Regions from separate parts of the Homo sapiens genome. Here region 1 is linked to region 2. The links are contacts of gene promoters, found by promoter capture Hi-C in human tissues and cell types (Jung and others, 2019). All regions are on one chromosome and are shown on one strand. The core of a region is centred on a gene start or on the middle of the fragment in contact, and the rest is flanking DNA. Distances in the headings are between cores, read along the strand shown. Region 1 overlaps LOC124901681 (a long non-coding RNA gene). Region 2 holds the start of UPK3B (uroplakin 3B).

What was found. The method cuts DNA at HindIII sites, captures the fragments that hold promoters and counts their contacts. A contact is called where the count stands out against the background at its distance.
Region 1: a contact is called between a fragment that was not itself captured here and the fragment with the promoter of UPK3B in region 2, in 1 of the 25 tissues and cell types used here (lymphoblastoid cells).

What each region holds. Positions count from the first base shown.
Region 1 is chr7:77,523,428-77,527,867 of GRCh38, forward strand. All of the region lies in intron 2 of LOC124901681 (a long non-coding RNA gene), which reads right to left. Among named protein-coding and RNA genes, the nearest start is that of PTPN12, 12 kb to the right of the region's middle. RefSeq lists enhancers at 2,147-2,648, 2,649-3,148. The HindIII fragment of the contact is 9,064 bases long and covers 1-4,440 here.
Region 2 is chr7:76,508,105-76,512,538 of GRCh38, forward strand. It overlaps UPK3B (uroplakin 3B), which reads left to right and starts at 2,448. Exons shown (of 6, transcript NM_001347684.2): 1 at 2,448-2,633; 2 at 2,799-2,948; 3 at 3,553-3,778. The coding sequence starts at 2,549. LOC124901675 (a long non-coding RNA gene) reads right to left here and starts at 2,629. Exons shown (of 2, transcript XR_007060388.1): 1 at 2,420-2,629; 2 at 77-2,004. RefSeq lists a silencer at 830-1,035 and enhancers at 1,913-2,485, 2,486-3,058, 3,812-4,434. The HindIII fragment of the contact is 20,174 bases long and covers 1-4,434 here.

The sequences.
Region 1 (4,440 bases), core at 1,275-3,774, 1.0 Mb after region 2:
ATTAGCTACAGGGATAGATCTCTACATTAAGGAGCTCATAACCTAGATATATAAACAAACCAGTATAAGGCAATGTAAGGACTAAAATATTGTGTTAAATGTATAAAGTGTTACAGGAGGAAAGAAAGAGAGAAATAGGCAAAGGGCTGAGTAGACATTCCTCCAAAGATATACAAATAGCCAAGAAGCACATCAAAAGATGCTCAACATCATTAATCATTAGGAAAATGCATATCAAAACCATAATGAGGTACCACTTCGTACCCAGTAGGATGGCCAAAAATTTTTTAAAGGAAAATAACAAGTGTTGGCAAGGATGAGAATAAATTAGAACCCTTGTACAATTTCTGGTGAGAATGTAAAATGCAGCTTCTGTAGAAAACAGTTTGGTTCTCCACAGAAAACCATGATCATAGGAACACTATTCACAACTCCTCAAAAGTGAACACTGCCCAAAAGTCCATCAATGGATGAAAGAATAAACAAAATGTAGTATATACTTATAATGCAATATTATTCAGCTTTAAAAAGGCAGAAAATCCTTTCATACGCTATAACATGGATGAACCTTCAAGACATTACACTAAATGAAATTAGCCAGTCACAAAAAGACAAATAAATGTGAGCCCACCTGTATGAGGTATCTAAAATAGTTATATTCATAGAAACAAAGTAGAATGGTAGTTACTGGGAGCTAGAAGGACAGGGAAATCAAGGAACATTGTTTAATGAGTATACATATTCAGTTTTGCAAGATGAAAAGTTTCTGGAGATCTGTTGCACAACAATGCAAATATATTTAACACTAATGAACACTTAAAAATGGTTAAGATAGTAAATTTTGTTATGTGATTTTACCAGAATTTTTTTAAAGGCAAGATACTACTCAGCATAAAGTTATACATGCACTGGAACAATAAAAATTCTAAATACAAGATAATGGTTATTTCTGGGGAGAGAAAGGAAGGACTCTATAGGCATCTCAACTCTATCCATACTGTTTTCTTACTGAAAATCTGAGGCAAATATGAAAATATTAAGATTTGAAACAAAACATTATGCAAGTGAAAGAAGCCAGACACAAGAGGCCACATACTATTATATATGATTCCATTTTTATATGAAATATACAGAATAGGTAAATCCATATAGACAGAATGCAGATTGGTGATTGCCAGGATGTTAGGGGAGGAAGGAGTAGGGAGTAACTGTTTAATGGGAATAGGGCTTTCTTTTGGGGACACGAAAATGTCTTAGAACTAGATAGATGTGGTAGTTGCACAATATTGTGAATGTACTAAATGCCACTGAATTGTTAACTTTAAAATGATTAATTACATATTATATAAATTTCACTTCAATTAAAACAAACTAAGGAAAGGGAGAATTTCAAGAAGGAATGGTATTCACTGAAAAGGGTCAAATGCTGCACAAGGGTTAAGAAGGATGTACACTAAGAGGTCATGAGATTTGGCAAGTAGGAAGTCCTTTAGGAGATATGTGCCAGTAGTCAGACTGTTGTGGGTTGCATGAGATGGGCAGTAGTTTGTGGGAGTCTTGAGCATTTTGTAGGATAAGGAGAGTCACTGAAGGGGAAAAGACTGACAATAAAGGAGAGGAGATATTTGTACAGCAAGAGTAGGAAGAGACATAAAAGGGTAGAGAGGGTCAACAGAATCCTAATAGTGGAGAGAAATGAGTAAGTTATAGGGGTAAATTTGTGATTTCCCAATTTCACTTGGAAAGGAGAAACTGAGTTAAAACTTGATAACTCCATTTTTCTAAGAATGAAGAAGCAGGGTGTAGGGCTTGAAGCGAGTGATAAAGCCATGGGAGCTGACCAAAAATGGACAAAAGGGCTGTCTGAGCAGCTTTGAGGGCTTTAGTAGAAATCATAAATATCTCCCTCGCACACACAAACCCACAATTAAAAAGTTCAACTGTTAAAGGTATTGCATGATTAATAGTATGTCTCACAAATTGCTCATTAGAAATAAAACCACTGCCTAGACTCATCTGTATGACACATGATACTGGATTTGTGAAATATTATGAATATACTTAAAAATAGTATTCATGTAACACAACAGAAAGATCACTCAGTGAGAACTACAGAAAGATAGCAAATTGAAATCTACTGAAGAAATATTAAATACCAAACATTCAGCTAGAAAAAGAAATGAAATATCTCTAGGAGACAACTTACTACTGAAGAAAGATATAAATAAATATTTCACCAGAATTTTGAAATAATGGAACTATTTAAAAATTGACAAGGAAAGGGCAGTTGATGATTGCCTTGATAAATTACATAGTTAATTTCTTTGAAAAAAAAAAAAAAAAGGATATGCCCTAAAGTTTAAAATAAACTATTTTAAAAGTATACTTTTAAAAAGTAACTGGTAGAGCATATTAAATGGAAATTAAAAACAATTTTAAAACCATAAAATGCTTGCTAATTGAAAACTAAGACTAATCGTAACTAGCTATTAACAGTAAATACCTTTTAACAAATTTTCAACTACTGAGCCAGGTGCAGTGGCTCATGCCTGTCATCTCAGCACTTTGGGAGGCCAAGGCAGGCAGATTGCTTGAGCTCAGGAGTTTGAAGCCAGCCTAGGCAACGTGGCGAAACTCTCTACAAAAAATACAAAAATTAGCTGGGTGTGGTGGCGTGTGCCTGTGGTCTTGGATACTCGGGAGGCTGAGGTGGGTGGATCACTTGAGTCCCAGAGGTCAAGGCTGCAGTGAGCCATGACTGTGTCACTGCATTCCAACCTGGGTGACAGAGTGAGAGACCCTGTCTTAAAACAAAACAAAAACCAAAGTTTCAACTACTGAATGAACTTGAATATAACTAAAAAATCGGCAGGCGCCTGTAGTCCCAGCTACTCGGGAGGCTGAGGCAGGAGAATGGCGTGAACCCGGGAGGCAGAGCTTGCAGTGAGCCGAGATCATGCCACTGCACTCCAGCCTGGGTGACAGAGTGAGACTCCATCTCAAAATAAATAAATAAATAAAAGAAATGTGATATTCACTGACAAGGTAAGGTAACCATCAAATGATGACATATAATATGCACATTAGGTGCCTTCTAGAATTCTATGGGCATTAGAAGATTTTTGCATAATATTACAGCAATTCTTGGAAATGAAATTTCCCTCTATAGATTTTAGTTTAGACTTGTATAGCTGCTAACGACACCAATTATTTGTTTGACTATAGGCTAAATAACAGAGTTGAAAGAAATCTCTGCTTTCTAGTTGCCAACACAGAAACATGAAGTGCAAGATTTTCACAGAATAGTGAATATGATAAAAATATAAAATCATGGAACTTTAAATATACTTTTTTAACTGCAGTACAATATATCTAACATAAAATTTATCATTTTAACCATTTTTAAGTGTATAGCTCAGTAACATTAAGTACATTCACATTGTTGTGCAACCATCACCACTAACCATTTTTTATCATCTCAAACTATATATTTTATTTATTTATATTGTGGTGAAAAACACATACATTTGCCATCTTAACCATTTTTAAGTGTATAGTTTACTAGTATTAAGTATACCTGTATTGATTCACATTGTTGTGAAACAGATCTCCAGAACGTTTTTATCTTGCAAATCTGAAAATCTATGCCCATTAAACTCCCCTTTTCCCTTCTGCCCCCAACCCCTGGTAACCACCATTCTATTTTGTTTCTATGAGTTTAACTACTTTAGATACCTCAAATAAGTGGAAGCACATTTTTTTTAATCTAAAATTATTAGTGGTCACTGAAGAAAAGGGATTTTTTGCTTGTTTTGTTTTGCTGATAGTTTGGCCTGACCTCAATCAATAAAGTGAATGAATTTTATATGGCACAATTATATTTCATAAGCCTTGTTAATGATCCATTCTTGAATACAGAAACCAAATGTCATCATGTTGAAAAACGACTAATTAGATGGTCAGGTAGTATTTGACTTTGAAGTTATTTATAAAATTTTAATTTTTCTTTGAATGTTAAATGAAACAGCATAAGAAGTATGAGATAGAAAGGTCAGAGAACAGGGTGGATTTAATGACTGTATTCTCTTGCAGTTAGCATTAATTATTACTGTATGTAGCCTTTGTTGTGTAACACTCTTAAGTTTTCATTGAGTGGAGAATTATCTGGGTTTTAGTTCTAGTTCTGCCATCTATGTGATCTTGGGCAAATAATTTAATTTCTCTAAAGTTATGCATTATTATCCTTACTAGTATTCTAATGCATATATAAAGAATATAGGGTCGGGTGCGGTGGCTCATGCCTGTAATCCCAACACTTCGGGAAGTTGAGGCAGGTGGATCACCTAAGGTCAGGAGTTAGAGACCAGCCTGGCCAACATGCTGAAACCCCGTCTCTACCAAAAAAAGAAAAGAAAAAAAAATTAGCCAGGCATGGCAGTG
Region 2 (4,434 bases), core at 1,198-3,697:
CATGTTGTGTGACTGCATCCTATGAAATGTCCATTACGGGCAAAACCATGGAAACAAGAAGTAGCTTAGTCGTCACTGGGGACGGGAGAATGGAGAGTTACCGTTTAATGGGTGTAGTGTTTCGTTTTGGGGAAGTAAGAAGGTTCTGGAATTGGTGATGGTTGCACAACCTTGTTGATATACTAAAAGCTGTTGGGCGCTGTGGCTCATGCCTGTAATCTGGGCACTTTGGGAGGCTGAGGCAGGAGGATCCCTTGAGCCAGGAGTTCAAGACCAGGCTGGGCAACACAGTGAGACCCTGTCTCTACAAGAAATATATTTTTATTATATTTTTTTTGAGACAGAGTCTCACTCTGTCATCCACGCTGTAGTGCGGTGGTGCGATCTCAGCTCACTGCAACCTCCGCCTCCCGGGTTCAAGTCATTCTCCTGCCTCAGCCTCCCGAGTACTTGGGATTACAAGCACGTTCCACCACACCCGGCTAATTTTTGTAATTTTAGTCGAGACAGGGTTTCACCATGTTCGCCAGGCTGGTCTCGAACTCATGACCTCAAGTGACCTGCCCACCTCGGCCTCCCAAAGTGCTGGGATTACCGCCGTAAGTCACTACACCCAGCCTCAAAAACTATATTTTTAAAAATTAGCAGCTGGGCGCAGTGGCTCATGCCTGTAATCCCAGCACTTTGGGAGGCCAAGGCAGGTAGATCGCGAGGTCAGGCGTTCGAGACCAGCCTGGCCAAGTTGGTGAAACCTCATCTCTACTAAAAATACAAAAATTAGCTGGGCATGGTGGTAGGTGCCTGTAGTCCCAGCTACTAGGGAGGCTGAGGCAGAAGAATTGCTTGAACCCAGGAGGTGGAGGTTGCAGTGAGCAGAGATCACGCCATTGCACTCCAGCCTGGGCGACAGGGTGAGACTCCATGTCTCAAAAAAAAAAAAAAATAGCCAGGCACGGTGGCTCACGCCTGTAATCCCAATACTTTAGGAGGCCAAGGCAGGAGATTTGCTTGATCCTCCCAGGAGTTAGAGATCAGCCTGGGCAACATAGCAAGATCCTGTTTCTATAAAAAATACATTTTTAAAAATTGGCCAGCCGGGCGCAGTGGCTCACACCTGCAATCCCAGCGCTTTGGGAGGCTGAGGTGGGTGGATCACCTGAGGTCAGGAGTTCGAGACCAGCCTCACCAACGTGGAGAAACCCTATCTCTACTAAAAATACAAAATTAGACAGGTGTGGTGGCACATGCCTGTAATCCCAGCTACTCAGGAGGCTGAGGCAGGAGAATCACTTGAACCCAGGAGGTGGAGGTTGCGGTGAGCCAAGATCGAGCCATTGTACTCCAGCCTGGGCAACAAGAGTGAAAACTCCGTTTCAAAAAAAACAAAAAAAAAATTGGCGGGGGTGCCAGGCACGGTGGCACATGCCTGTAATCCCAGCACTTTGGGAGGCCAAGGCGGGTGGATCACTTGAGATCAGGAATTTGAGACCAGCCAAGCCAACATGGTGAAACCCCGTCCCTACTAAAAATACAAAAATTAGCTGGCCGTGGGGCACATGCCTGTAATCCCAGCTACTTGGGAGGCTGAGGCAGGAGAATCGCTTGAACCCAGGAGGCGGAGGTTGCAGTGAGCCCAGATCACGCCACTGCACTCCAGCCTGGACAACAAAGGAGACTCCATCTTAAAAAAAAATTAATTAAATAAATTTTAAAAATTAGCCGGAGCATGGTGTTGTGTGCCTGTGGTTCCAGCTACTGGGAAGGCTGAGGTGGGAGGATTAACTGAACCTGGGAGTTTGAGGCTCCAGTTAGCTGTGAACTGACCTCCCTGGGTGACATATATATATTTAAGCCACTGAGCTGTGAAGGTTGTGAAGGTATGTGAGTTATGTCTTGAAAAATACACACATAGTGAGCGCCAAATCCCGGGAGTAGTGTTTAAGTGGCGGGCTTGTCAGCTGTCAAGGGCTCTGCAGCCCTTTCTCTGAATCCAAGTTCTTCTTCCTGTGGACAGGGAACCCAGGCTGCGAACTGGGAGGATGTGGCCTCGTGGGGGGCAGGGCCAGCGTGCTGTGATGGGGATGGGGCTGGGCAGGTTGGGGCTGCCTGCTACTCCCCACTCCTGACTCTGGGTGGGGACAGAAGGCAGAGGGAGGCTCCTGGCACCTGGGGCACAGGAATCTCAGGCATGTGGTCCTGAGCCTGTTTCCAAAAGCCAGACCCTCCTCCCCAGGGCGGAGAGACTGGGAGGGGCCCCAATCCAGGCTCCGGGATGGCCTGGCTGGCATCTGGGGTTCCAGTGGCCCCTCTCCCTTGGCCCTGGCAGTGGGGCTGGATACTGGCCTGCCTCCCACCAGAGTCCCCCCAGCTCCTCCCTGCTGTGGGCTGGCCTGGGAGGAAGGGGGTGGGGTGCACTTACATTTGCAGGTCTTTCCAGCCCCTGGGGCAGCCTGATTAACCAGCTTCTCCAGGGCCAAGCTGTTGGGGGTGAGGTGCAGCCCGAAGCAGCCAGACCAGCCCCTGAGCCTCCCGGGTGCTGGCAGCTGTCATGGGGCTACCCTGGGGGCAGCCTCACCTAGGGCTGCAGATGCTCCTCCTGGCGTTGAACTGTCTCCGGCCCAGCCTGAGCCTGGGTGAGTGGGGGTCCTGGATGGACGCGTCCAGCCAGACCCAAGGGGCTGGGGGCCCTGCTGGAGTGATTGGACCCTGGGCGCCCGCCCCCCTCCGATTGGGAGAGGCAGCCCCAGGGACCCCCACGCCCGTCTCCGTGGCTCACCTTTTGTCCCCCGTGGCCACAGAGCTGGTGCCCTACACACCACAGATAACAGCTTGGGACCTGGAAGGGAAGGTCACAGCCACCACCTTCTCCCTGGAGCAGCCGCGCTGTGTCTTCGATGGGCTTGCCAGCGCCAGCGATACCGTCTGGCTCGTGGTGGCCTTCAGCAATGGTACGGGGACTGCTGTGGGGCCTGGGTGAGGGTGACGGCTGAGGAGAGTGGTGGGCCCTAGGAGCCCCTCACCAGCAAGCGCCTTCAATGATTGAGCCCCTGTGGGGGCCTTTGGGAGAGTAGGTGTGGATGAATTGGGCTTTATCTAAAGGGGTAATATGTGTATTGAAAAATACACACGTAGTGAACACCAAATCCCGGGAGTAGTGCTAGTGGTGGGTTTGTCAGCTGTCAAGGGCTCTGCAACCCTTTCTCTGAATCCAAGTAGTTCTTCCTTTGGACAGGGAACCGAGGCTGCGACCTGGGAGGATGTGGCCTCCTGTGGGGCAGGGCCGGTGCACTGCAATGGGGCTGGGGCTGGGGCTGGGCAGGTTGGGACTGCCCGCTGCTCCCCACTCCTGGCTCTGGGTGGGGACAAAAGGCCAGAGGGAAGCTCCCCTTCAGGGGTAACAAAGTCGACTGGGTCTGGACTATCTCTGGGGGCCCTGAGGGAGGAGGTGGCATGGGGGGTCAGGGCTGGAGACTGGGCGAACACAGAACCCCCACTCATAAGGACAAAGCTGCTTTCTCCCCTCCCACCTCCATCTGTTCTCTCCTCCTGCAGCCTCCAGGGGCTTCCAGAACCCGGAGACACTGGCTGACATTCCGGCCTCCCCACAGCTGCTGACCGATGGCCACTACATGACGCTGCCCCTGTCTCCGGACCAGCTGCCCTGTGGCGACCCCATGGCGGGCAGCGGAGGCGCCCCCGTGCTGCGGGTGGGCCATGACCACGGCTGCCACCAGCAGCCCTTCTGCAACGCGCCCCTCCCTGGCCCTGGACCCTATCGGTGGGTGGTCCCCACCGGAGCCCTGGGACTGGGGCTGTGCTTGGGGCGGACGCATTGCTGGGACCAGGGATGCTCTCTCTAGCATCTTTCCAGGGAGGGGTCCCCGGCCCCGGTCCTCCCCTTTGCAAGCCCGGGCTCCTTCCACTGTAGAGTCAGCAACAGTGCTCACCCCCGCTGGGGCCGGGCAAGGCCCAGGAGGAGCAGGTGGGCACCTTGGGGAGGCGGGATCTTAGTCAAGGTGGGAGGGGGCAGCTTCCCCAAAGTCTAGGCCCCTGTCCCCCACCACGGGCAGATCTGGCAGGAAACTCGGGGGCCGAGTTCAGACCCAGTCTCGTCGGTATTAGGCAGGGAGCAGGAGAGGTGGCTCCTACCCGCTCTTACAGATGAGGAAACTGAGGCACAGGAGGTCAAGTGGCCTGCCAACATCGGGGTGGAGCCGGGATGGGGAAGCAGGCAGTGTGTCCAGGTCAGGACTGTCCGGACACAGGAGGAGGCGGGGTGACCTCAGGAAGACCAGGCCCAGGGGAAGCCGGGAAGGCAGGGCGTGGTGAGGCTGGAACAGCACCCCGCTCCGCCCAGCCCCCTTCTGCCCTCTCACCCACTCTCCAGGTCCACCCTCTGCCCTCCCCGCTGCCTCACCCTGGCTCAGCCTTCCA